2 separate regions of the Homo sapiens genome follow, and region 1 is linked to region 2. The links are contacts of gene promoters, found by promoter capture Hi-C in human tissues and cell types (Jung and others, 2019). All regions are on one chromosome and are shown on one strand. Each heading gives the region's core, a stretch centred on a gene start or on the middle of the fragment in contact. The rest is flanking DNA. Distances are from core to core; before and after follow the strand shown. Region 1 has its middle 48 kb from the start of RMEL3. Region 2 holds the start of ACTBL2 (actin beta like 2).

What was found. Contacts are between HindIII fragments. The study calls those that stand out against the background at their distance.
Region 1: a contact is called between a fragment that was not itself captured here and the fragment with the promoter of ACTBL2 in region 2, in 2 of the 25 tissues and cell types used here (dorsolateral prefrontal cortex and mesenchymal stem cells).

The regions. Positions count from the first base shown.
Region 1 is chr5:57,343,701-57,350,157 of GRCh38, reverse strand. No RefSeq gene overlaps it. Among named protein-coding and RNA genes, the nearest start is that of RMEL3, 48 kb to the left of the region's middle. The HindIII fragment of the contact is 5,938 bases long and covers 1-4,560 here.
Region 2 is chr5:57,478,645-57,485,399 of GRCh38, reverse strand. ACTBL2 (actin beta like 2) reads left to right here and starts at 2,589. Exons shown (of 1, transcript NM_001017992.4): 1 at 2,589-5,382. The coding sequence starts at 2,693. The coding sequence ends at 3,823. The region is part of intron 1 of RMEL3 (enriched in melanoma 3); the gene reads right to left. The HindIII fragment of the contact is 3,416 bases long and covers 1,083-4,498 here.

The sequences.
Region 1 (6,457 bases), core at 342-2,841, 130 kb after region 2:
ATTAGCTCCACAAAGTATGTGGTCACGAAATGTTATCAAAATCGCTGTAATGCTGTTTAAAAGTTTACATTCACAAATACAGAAAAGGAACATCTATGGAGTCAAATTAGCGGGATAAAAACATATATTTGATTGAAACTGTGTAATTCACATAGCCTTCCCTTCCAGGTAGTTTCTTGATCTCTCAGAATGGCCTACTGCTTCGCTAACCTTTTTTTTATTTTTAAAGCAATTACCTCCTTGTACTGAAATTGCCACCAGAATGTAAGCCCCTCAAGAGCAAAGTGGTTTTGTTCATCTTTGCATCCACAATGCCTAATGCAGTGCTTAGCCCTTAGTAAACGCTCAGTGATTGCCCGACAAAAACGAACTCAGTGAGCCAACACCCGATTAAGACTTCTCAAATTGGAATGTGCATCAGAATCACCTAGGGAACTTCTTTCACATACAGATTCAAAGACCCCACTCTCAGAGATTTCTGAATCACTGGCTGGAGCCCAAAGTGATTTTAAGGCAGGTGTTCTAAAAACCATATTTTGAGAAACACAGGACTAGGACAAAAAGAGTGGTAACTCTGGAGTATCTACCATACATATCAGTTAAGACGAATGCTTTCCACTGTAAGTAACAGAAAGCCTGACCTACTGAAGCAAGGAGTCTGTAATATTTAGGTTTTGGCACTGGTTCAGCAGTTCATGGATATTAAGATTGGCATCTCTGAGATTATCTTGGCTTCTTGTTTGCTTGTCACCTCATGGTTGATAAATGCCTGCCACAGTTCCAGACATAACATATGTTCAAGGCAAGAAGAGGAGCAAGCAGTGCAGCTTGCAACTGTCCCTTTCATGGGGAGAGTTTCACTTATGTTTCATTGGCTAACTGTAAATAGCCATCACCAGCTGCAAGGGCAAACAAATGGGTAAATGTTAGCTTGTCTTGCCTCTGTGGTGAAAAGCTTGTGGAAAAAAAGGGATAGAGAATGACTGCCAGTTTAGCCAAAGAACCTCTGCCGTATTGTAGTCCCCAGCAATTCTTCATCCACCGAGTTCACCAAAGAATAATCCTCCTAACTGGATAGAAAGAGTCTATTACTATTCCTAACTTACAGAAGAAGAAACAGGTACAGATAAGGTAAGTAGCTTTCCCAAAGTCACTCAGCTGATAAGTGACAGAGTCAAATCCGGGCAGTTTAGTTTCAGAATCCATGCTCTTAACCCCTGAATTCCATGAATTTAGAACTAAACTCACGGTGATTGAGTCTCTAAGTAGCTGTGTCCAGCGCAGCTGTTGTCAACTTTCATTGCACTGTAACATCTCCTAGTAAAACAGACCTTCAAATACCTTCAAATACCAAAAATATAAAGGTACATTTATCTTTATACCTCTCTTTGAAATGCAGCCCCAGGATAGGGCAACATTTTTAATATGCATTAAAATTCAAAACTTGTCCTACTGCCTGGTTTATTTTGGGTCTGGTTATCTTTCATCCTACACCTTGGCACGTGAACCCTGTCCAAACTGCAAGCATGCCAAGGAAGTGTTGCAAATGAGATCCCAAGACGACTGTAGGCTTGTCCTTATTATAGCCTGTCTTCCAAACTGGAGGACATATTCAAATTCTCAGTAACACTTAGTCCCTGAGGTCCCTCTAACAATGAAAGCTATTTATTCCAACTAGGCTGTATTCAGGAAGTTCAAACGTCCAAAAAAGATAACTTTTCCCTGGAGCTATGCACATGGCAATGAAAATTAAACAAGGCAAAATTATAAAAATAAGATTTACCTCCTTTAGAGAGCTTGAAAAGTTTTCCCTTCCCTAATTGTAGCTAAATGACATTATCTCCAAATTATTTCTGTGTTATGGAAATTGTAACATTAAGAATCAGGAATGTGGCTGGGCGTGGTGGCTCACACCTGTAATCCCAGCACTTTGGGATACCAAGGTAGGCAGATCACCTGAGGTCAGGAGTTTGAGACCAGCCTGACCAATATGGTGATACACCATCTCTACTAAAAATACAAAAATTAGTCTGACGGGGTGGTGCTTGCCTGTAGTCCCAGCTACTCAGGAGGCTGAGGCAGGAGGACCGCTTGAACCCAGGAGGTGGAGGTTGCAGTGAACCAAGATCACACCACTGCACTCTAGCCAAGTGAGATTCCATCTCAAAAAAATAAAAAAAGAATCAGGAATGCATGCCATTGTTTTTTATCGTAGAAAAGGAAGAGTTGCTACACATTTTTTTTAACTAAAAATAACTTTCTGTACAGATTATTTCATCACAAACCCTTGAGTCACGAGTTTACCCATACAATAAACCTGCCCATGTACCTCTGAAACTAAAATAAAAGTATTTTTTAAATAAATAATGTGTCCCCCAAAAGTTCATGTGTTGGAAGCTTGATCCCCAATGCAGCAGTGTTGAGAGGTGGAACACTCGGGAGGTGATTGGATTATGTGGACTCTGTCTTCACCAGTTGATTGATCCATTCATGAATTAATGGATTAGTGGGTTGATATGTGAATGGGTTATCACAGGAGTGGACTGGTTATCAAGAGGGTGAGTCCACTGTAAAGCCAGTGTGGCTGCCTATCATAAGTCCCCTCACCATGTGATGCACTGTACCATCTCAGGACTCTTCAGAAGGTCCCCACCAGCAGGAGACCCTCCAGATGCAGCCCCTTGACCCTGGAATTTCCAGCCTCCAAAACTGTAAAAAATAAATTTCTTTTCTTTATTAAAAAAATGAAAACAACTTTATTATTTTCTTATAACAAAAGTAATGTATATGTATTGTAGAAAATTTAACACAAAAGAGTAAAAAAGAATAAATATTTTTAAATCCACAATCGCCACTGTGAATACCTGCTCATTTGCCCTCTACTTGTTCTGAGAAAAGGGCAGAGCAAATACAGTTGGCACTCATTCTGAACAACAAGAAAAGGCTAGGACTGAGGTAGAGACCATTTGATGTGGGCCAGTGGGTCATAGCATCCAGATCATCATCATGACTGAGCCAAATAAGGTGAACATATGGTTGTTTTCTGGCATATTCTAATCATTAGGAGTAGAATGGACATTACCTTATCATCCACCATGCTGCCTATGGTCCTTATGTCAGGTGAACTTGCCAAAATGTCACTTCAGGCACACAGTATCAATACTCATCAGCTATTGTCAGGGTGGAAGCCTGATGAGCCAAGTATACTGGAACCAGCAAGAGAAACCCCCTTCCTCCAGCAACGCCCCTCCAGGGCTCTCTGTTAACAAAGCTCAGCATCGTCATGTTTGCTGCAGAGGAGAAATGCTAAAAAGGGTCCAGGTTCATTATGTCAGAGCAGGTAATGAAGGGCTCATATGGAACTGAGAAGCAATAAGTTGATAACTTACACAAACACCCTTCAGATGTTTGTAGAATTTGAGTCTCTTTTTCATGTTTCTGTTGTTATTGTTGTTTTAATGAAAACCTTTCTATGTCTACAAAGATTTTCATTGTCAAACACTTCTCCCAGGCTCGTTTCACAATCCTCAAAGCCGTAGGGTCATCTCTAGCCCTTGAAATGTGAGTGTATTTTATCTTGAAGTATGTGGATTCCAACTACCTCCTCCCACTTCCACCACTCCCACCCTGGTCCAAGCCCTGGTTGTCTCTCACCTAAATTGTTGCAATAGCCATCTGACTCATCTCCCTGCTTCTACTCTTGCCATTTTGTCCCCTAGAAACTAAATCAGTTTATTATGTTCATCATCCACTCAAAGCCCTCCAGTGGCTCCCAATTTCACTCAGAGTAAAACCCAAAGTCTTACAATGGCCTACTGAGGCCAGTAATGATCTTCCCTCACCCCACTAGAATATAATCTCCGAGAAAGCAGAGATTTTTGTCAGTTTTATCTATTTCCATGTTTCTAGTTCCTAAAACAATGCCTGGCTCATAGTAGATATATTTGTTTAATAGGCAAATGTCCCATGCCTAGAACTGCCTCACCTCTGAACTTCTCATTTGTGAAGTCATACCTGTCTTTATCAAAGCACTCGACTTGAATAAAGATACTGTGTTACTTGTAGCCCATTGTATTCTAATTGGTAAAATGAACATCAAATATACTATTCTATGTAATCCCAGGAAATCACCCAAGTAGAATTTACTAGATGCCATTGTTCTCTATAAAAATAGGTAGAAAAAGAAAGAAAAGAAAAAAAAACATTAGTTTGACCCAAAAAGCTTTCTAGTATTTGGCCATTAGATACTTAATTTTCCAATAGGAGGTGTTTTCTATAGCCTGGAGCCATTACTGAAGAGTTCAGTGTCACAAAGCAAGGTAAGCAAAGAACTAATGGAACAGAGTTTTAAGTATTCAGACAACAAATCTTTTTCTTTCCTTTGCTTCTCATTCAAATACTCACTTCTACTTCACCTAAAACATTTCTCTTAAAGTTATATGATACTTTCATTATAAATAAATGACAATAGATATTTATTCTATTGTCTTTGGTTGATCTCCATATGTAAATATTGTTCACAGTTCTGCTCGTATACCCATCCTACTAGCCACTGTGGAACATGCACTACACCCAGCCCCACAATTCATCACATTTAAGCAATATTAATCACAATGAATGCCTGAGAGTCATAATTTTACCTTTTGCAATTACTAATGTGAGCCAATTGTCAAAAGTCTAGGAATATAACTGTAATGGAGGCTATTATTACTTTCTAGAGAAGCAGTAGGAAAATAATGTTGGCCTACTCAAAATCATTTGTTCATCTAAGTAGTATTTATTGAACACATAATATATGCTGTAATGAATAAAACAGAAATATCTCCTGCCCTCATGAAGAATCTAGAGAAGAGTCAGCATAATTTTTCTATAAAGAGCCAGATAGTAAATATCTAAGCTTTGCAGTCCATGAGGTCACATACTCTGCCACTGTAACATGAAAGCATCCATAGACAATACATAGATGAACAAGCATGGATATATTTGCAGATCATACAAAGTAGATGGGATGCCCAGTATGGCATATGGCCATAGTTTGCCAATCTCTGTTCTACCAGAACAGAGATATTAATTAAATAATTAAATATTAAATTAAATATTAATTAAATAATCCATGAAACAGGTATATAATTGCATACTGTGATGAGTGCTACAAAAAATTACAGGGTTGAAAAAGCTGGTATAGACATCCCCACAAAGCTAAGATGCAATTGAGGAGTAGTTGTTAGGCAGGTTTCCTGGCAGAGTGAGCAGCATGTGCAAAGGCCCTGAAGCAGGGGAGGCCTAACCTATTCAAGAAAGGTCAAGCTGGCTTTTGCCCAATGCTCAAGCAGGAGAAGAGGAAAGGAGCTAAAGCTAGAAGTATTATACGGGCCAGTGTGTACAGGGCCTCATGGGTTGTGCTACAGATTTGCTCCATATCCTGAGACCAGTGGAAAAGCACGGAAAGGGAGTAAGACCTTTCATGGAACAAATGCTCACTGCATGCCTACCAGCACCAGACACTCATCTACAGCGAATAAAACAAAGTTCCTGCCCTCATGGAGCTTATATTCCAGTGGGAAAGCCAGACCATAAACAAAAAATATGCAACATAATGTCAACTAATATATTTGTCAAGTCTGTCAAGCAAAATAAATATCAAAAAGAATATGCTAGAATAAATGACTAGAGAGGGATGGATAGTGCTATAATTAGATTTGTGTTTTAATTGTTCTGTATAGCACAGGGTATACTAGTGAGATCAGAAAACTAGTTAAGAGATTGTTGCGGTGGCCCAGTTTAAAAAAATACATATGTATATATGTGCGTGTGTGTTTTAAAAGATATATATATATAACCACTTGAATCAGAGCATTGGCAGTGGACATGAGAGAAATAGATGGGTTGGAGATAAATTTATAAAGTATAGCTGACTGGCCTCGGTGATAGATTCCAAAGTGGTGTCGAGGATGGCTTTCAGATTTTTTTGTTTTATGCAACCATAGAAACCATGGTACTCTTCTCCAAGAAAGGAAAGCTGGCAGGGGACAGCTTGGGAGAGGAAGATGCTAAGCTTACTGTTGGACATTTGAGTTTGAGCATCCTTTAGGAGCTCCAGACAAAAGATGTTGAGTCATCAGTGGACTTGTGTGTCCATGAGCAGTGTTCTAACCAAGTCAGGCAATGTCCATGTGGGAAGAACTGTTCGCCCTTGGACTGGACTGAGAGGTCCCCACCTGAACTGAGGCTCAAGCTCAAAGATAGAGTCCTGTATCTAGGGATGTTGGCTAGAATCATGACAAATGCTGTGGTTTTATATTTAATATTAATATCAAAGCAGCTAAAATGTACTGAGTGTTCATTATATGTTAGACACATGAATTATCTTATTAAATCTTAACACAATCCTATAAGGTATAAACTATTTTCTCTTTTTAGAAATAAGGAATCTGAGCCTGAGAATTTAACTAGCAAA
Region 2 (6,755 bases), core at 1,340-3,839:
TAGGAGATGTTTAATAAATGTTTGCGGATTGCTTGAAAAGTCTAAGGTTGACAAAGACAAGGCAAGGAGACACGGTAGCTTCCACCAGTTGTCTTCATATTTAATGCCCATACTTAAACCTCACTCTAGTTTCGTGTATCTGCATGATAGTCAAACTAGGCAAAATGTAAAAGAAAAAGAATATTCTGGGCTTCCATGAGTGAACCTTGAAGGGCCCTAAAGGTTTAGGTAATTAATTAAACATTTGTAAATTCTGGTCAGTTACAAAGTCTGTTACCTCCAAGAACAGTACTCCCTACTCACAGCTTCCAGAGCCCAGTATTTGTAAACCCATCTTTCTATGTTTTACTCAACACAAATTCTTACTACTTTTTAAAAATTTAACCAACTCAACAGATGACATTTTTAATGGCTGTTGAATTGTGATAAGCACCTCTTGCATTATTGAGAGTTAATTAGAAGAGCATAAGCTTATTTTAAGAATACATAACTGATGAAATTTGCTCCTGGGACACCGGAATTAAAGCAGGCTAGACAGTCTCTAGCAAAATCACACATCAGCCACACTCTCAAGGCATCAGTTATGCTGTGTGGACTCAGTACCAAATATCCCTTAGTTGAAGGTGATTCTAAGGACAGCACTCTAGTAAGTGTAGGATCTAAGGCTGCACTTGGTACTATGTGGGCTCCTCCACTAACATTTCCACCAACTTGGCTTTGTTTTATATTCCAGACCGGAGCATTCATAAATGGGGACTTGTGCTAAATACAATGTGTATTTCATTTTTTCCATTTTGTAAAATGTGCATGTAGTTTGTTATGGGATTTTAAAAAATTCCCAGAAGCACCATCCTATAGCAATAAAATGTTGTTTTAATCAAAAGCTTGGTTGTACTACATAACAAGGAAGTTCATAAAACCATTCAGTGTGAAGGTTTTTAACACTGTTGAAGAAGGAATTTTGCAGTTACAGAAAAGATTAAAGGAAAGGACTGTTTTGGTGAGCCCTAAAGCAAAACCATGGATCTTGTGATGAAACATACATTCTGCCATGACTGATTGTCACCAGAAAGGTTTTGAAGGCATATTACAGCACTGGATAAAATAAATCTATATCAAGCTATAGACAAAGAAGAGGGCTGGATGCTCACAGCTTGATGCTACACCATGACTCTCCAAGAGGCTCACTGGGCAAAGACTCAGGTTAGTTCTCCTGGCCTTGAGCTGGAGGGTGTTTTTTGTCCAGTAAATAGGGGCTGTGCTACCTCTTACAAAGCAAGCTTTATTGGGTAAATGAATGAATGATGAACCCAAATAAAGATTATTTTGGAGAACTCAGATGTAGACATGGAAAATTTCTTTGCTTTACAAGAGCTCACAAAGATAATTATATTCTATTCGCCTAACACATAGGGGAGCAGAAGTAATGAGCTTTCTTAAATGCTATTTCTCTGTAACACATTGCTGATGTCCTACATTTTACCATCATACACATCTTTTCAGGTAGTCTGTATTTCTATATGAAACATGGAACCCAAACAAATTGTTGCTATGAAGTGATCAGGGTGTAATATATCTTGAAATGGAAGGAAAGCTAGTATAATTCTAATTGTATAGATTTTAATAACTACATAGAGGTTTAATGTTATAATATAGTATATGTATCTTGAAGATCAAAATGTTTTAAGGATTAGTTTAAATATATAATTTTTCAAATTTGTCTTATCACTTCATTTTGTCCATTGTTGCAGAACTCAAGAGTTGTTGCAAATAAATAAATTTTTATAACCTGCATCTTAATAAATCATGCAAAATAGTTGACATTCAGTCATTATACAATTAACATGGACCCAATGAACCTGGTTCTATGAACAATGTCTAGACACAGTAAATGTTTAATGAAATTTGGTTGTTAGAAATTTATATCAGAAAAAAGTATCTATATGGGTTAACTTTAGCAATCATTCTATTCCTTTCGCTTGATCTCTGATGGATTAGAAGTCTATTAAATATCTCTACATTTTGCTTGACACAAGTGCATTGTAATTACAGCCATCAGGCCATCCTTAGCCATTTATTATTTTCATTTACTAAAACAGTCTCTACGATGATGACACCCTGTGGGATTAGGAATCTAATGGAAACAAAAATCTTGAAAAAGTGAAGATTGCAGGGTAAGACCCCTCATCAGAACAGTATCTTAAGAATGAAAAGGTAAGCTAGTGTAGGAAAAGTGAATCCTCAGGGACGCTAAGGAGGGAGCCTTCCTCCCAGCAGTGTTGCCATACCTAGCACCAGCTTTCTTTCATCTTGCTTTTATATCCCCCACTGCATCATCATAGTTATCTAGAGACCTCACCAGGCAGGCTGACGGTCATGTGTGGGTTGCCTAATTACAGGAACCTGAGATTTGACCACTTGGCAGCCAATTTTCTCTTTATGTAGAAAGATCTAATTGTTTATGTAATCATCACCATCATTAATACCTCAGAGATGACCTCATCCAGAAATGCTGGGAACTGGTGGAGTAGGACATGGGCGGAGTCAGTGTGTTCCTTTAAATACCTGTGGTCCCGGTGCAGCCTCCCGTGTCTGAAAGCATTTCTGGAGTGTTTTAGGCCTGTTCACTTTCTCTTACTCACTGTCTATTCACTTGTCCTGTTCACTCGTCTGGAAGATCTCAGCCAGCACCATGACTGACAATGAGCTGTCTGCCTTGGTAGTGGATAATGGGTCAGGGATGTGCAAGGCAGGCTTTGGTGGTGACGATGCCCCCCGGGCTGTGTTCCCCTCCATGATAGGGCGTCCTCGACACCAGGGCGTTATGGTAGGCATGGGCCAGAAGGACTGCTACGTGGGAGATGAGGCTCAGAGCAAGAGAGGCGTCCTGACCCTGAAGTATCCTATCGAGCATGGAGTGGTCACCAACTGGGACGATATGGAAAAGATCTGGTACCACACATTCTACAATGAGCTCCGTGTGGCACCAGATGAGCATCCCATCCTCCTCACCGAGGCACCCCTGAACCCCAAGATCAACCGGGAAAAGATGACTCAGATCATGTTCGAGGCTTTCAACACACCAGCCATGTATGTCGCCATCCAGGCTGTGCTGTCCCTCTATGCCTCAGGACGGACCACAGGCATCGTGATGGATTCTGGGGATGGGGTCACTCACATCGTGCCCATCTATGAAGGTTATGCCCTGCCTCATGCCATTCTACGCCTGGATCTGGCAGGGAGAGACCTGACTGATTACCTCATGAAGATCCTGACAGAGCGAGGCTATAACTTCACCACCACTGCTGAGCGGGAGATTGTGCGAGATGTCAAAGAGAAGCTGTGCTACGTAGCCCTGGACTTTGAGCAGGAGATGGTCAGGGCAGCCGCATCCTCCTCACCGGAACGGAGCTATGAACTTCCTGATGGGCAGGTGATCACCATTGGGAATGAACGCTTCCGATGCCCTGAAGCCATTTTCCAGCCTTCCTTTCTGGGCATTGAGTCCAGTGGGATCCATGAGACAACCTTCAACTCTATCATGAAGTGCGATGTGGATATTCGCAAGGATCTCTATGCCAACACCGTGTTATCTGGAGGGAGCACCATGTACCCAGGCATTGCTGACAGGATGCAGAAAGAAATCATAACCCTGGCACCCAGCACCATGAAAATCAAGATCATAGCTCCCCCAGAGCGGAAGTATTCTGTTTGGATTGGGGGCTCCATCCTTGCCAGCCTGTCCACATTCCAGCAGATGTGGATCAGTAAGCAGGAATATGATGAGGCTGGTCCTCCTATCGTTCACAGAAAATGTTTCTGAATGGGCTTCCATATTAGTGGGCTTACATTTTCCCTTTTCCTAGGTCACAGTGATGGTACTGCTTTTATCCGCTTTCAGTAGAATCGAGGTAAATACGTCACTCTTCCTAGTGTAAACCAGCAAACCCATCTCTCCATCCAAGTAACCTGGGCTCTTACCCAGATAACCACATCCGGTTCTCCATCAAGTGAAGGTGAATTCTAATACCATATTCCTTTTTCTTTGCCTATACTGTTCAAAGATAGGTAGGCCAGCTTAAATACATATAAGTGACAAGGAGTAAAATCACGAGAAATGTCATTTCAGAATGGATAACTATAATTATCAAGCTTTAAAACTTAGTTCTCGCTAAAATATTTAACAAGAACAGGCTGTATAAACTTGTTTAAAAAAAAAAGGTGCGTATGCATTTAGCAGCCGTGTCTTACTAGTTAAGTATCTTTGTTTTGTTTACTTCTTTGTATGGAGATAATGAATTATAAAGTTCAATAATATCCATATATACATAAGCACCAGGGAAATAAAATATATTGTGAAATATGCTGATGTATCTAGCTATCTGAACAGCTAATGTGAATTTCTTTACTCCCAAAAGTCATCGTTGTACTAGGTACATATTTTAATTGTTTCCCTTACTAAATAAGCATAATGAGACAGCCACCATTCCATTAATGTTTATAAATCATCTAAATTTTCAGCTCATAGTGGAGTTCTGCTGGTCAAATTATATTTTAATATCTTTCTTACTGAACCTTCTCATACCAAAACTACAGACAATGTCTAATTCTTAAGAGAGATAGATATTATAATATCAAATTAATGTCATTATGGTACAATTTGACAGAGGTAATTTTATTTCTATTTCTTAGTGTAATAGCACATCTTAAATAATTTCTGTAGACCAGGATTACAGATACTTCTCTTGTGCAAGGATTTCACTGTGGGAAAATATAGCTGCAGCATCTTTATTAATTATACATTTTACTACCAGTATACTAACACAGTTTTATCCTTGGAAAGCTTTTAGAATAATTCTACTTTATTATGTCCAGTAACTAGCAATACTTATTTATGCAAAGTGTCTCTGAGATACTAACATCTTTGAAAATATCAATGTATGTTCCTATAATGTCTAAAATATTTTAGTTACTCCAGTGATGATTTATTAACCAATTTTAAGTACCAGTATGTTTATTCCAATCTATGCAGTGATTTCTGAATATTTGGATATCAGCATTATTTGTATTTTTCAGGGTAATTTCTGAAAATTTAAAATATTTATTTGGATTGCTTATTCAGGCATTATAAGGTACTCTGGAGGAAGGAATCACTTCTCTTTTTTTCTTAGTTGGGAAACTTGTACTTATGTTATAAATCTTTAAAATGGAATCAGTAAGAATTTTTTGTTTAAGGTAATACTTTTCAAATAATTTGATTATTCCTTATTGGCTTTATCTGACAACATAATCTTTAAAATGCATGTAACCAAAATTAATCTCCAAAAACACTTTATTTTATATAACTTGCTTTCAGTACATTAAAATTGCTTCATACTTGTATACTTAGATTTCCTGTTATTTCTCCTCAACCATTCCCTTAGAATTAGAGAATGATCCAGATAGCATCTCTTTTTATATGTGTGACCTATTCATCTGTATGTTACAATTTTGCACCTCATACATTTAATCATGTAAACATTAAAAGGCAAATTTTAAAAAAAGGATAGCTAGCCATTTAACATTATATAGATGTCTCATAATCTAAATTTTAAAGCTGGGTTTTACTGGATGAACTGATCTTCAGGTAATTAATAGGCAGAGACAACATCAACAATAATAATCATAATATTTTGGATTTATATGCTGCAATGCATTCCATTTGCAGAGTGAGTAGTTCTCACAAACATTCTGACCTGCATTCTGAATTACCAAAAAAAAAAAAATATGACTTCCCACCCACAGACTATAAATGGGACAGGTAATGTGAACTTACAAGAGAGTGAGCTATAGAGCCCCACAACATTAGGTGAAAATATGAGCCCCATAATGCAAACTACGCATTATAAATCTTGAATTACTGTGGTAATTTAAGAGTTTATTATATATAAAATCTACAATTTCTAGATAACAAGTTGGTAAAATGCCAGAAACTTAAACCTAGAGTTGTGGGATATTCTTCTCTTTATCAACATTGACTGACTTATGGATGAGTTTAATGAAGAAACAGCCTGTTTCACAACTTTATATTTTAGAATCAAAGAATGACATCTACATAGGTAATACGATTAACATGCTATTCATGTATCATTAGCCTGGCTCATCAACCAAGTTATTTAGAGAACTTTATATAAATATAGGGTCCCTGGCCCTGGGCTCAGAGCAGTGGGTCTAGAATGAGCACTAAAAATCTGAATGCACAGCCAACTAGAGGAATTACAGCTCCACAGAATTCAAAATCCCAGCACATTACAGGCTCCATGGACAGGAAAGGTCTCCAGACACTTGCTTCATCCATCTTCCTCTGAGGATGAGACATCACTGAAGCAGCCTTCTCAGATTAATTTCATACCTCTGTAAATGATTTTCATTCTCCCTCTGTGATGCCTCCTGAGTAGCAATATAAGGCCAGGGCTGTATCACAATTCCCTGCACACTGTTATTTCCCAATCACAGGTAATATTTTTCTGAAAACATGACTGATCCAATGCCAGTTCCGACACTCTTCTACTCTTCTTTCCTAACATATAAATGTGCTTATTTTTCAATAGTGAGCTACAGTAGTCCTGGGATACAGGTTGAACTATACCCTATCTAGATATGCAATGCACAATTCTGTAATACAGAGGGCCTAAATATGAGTATTACATTATCCAGGCAATCAAAGGATAATCCTTTGGGTGACAAGGACTTTGCCATATTTGTTCACTCATTAC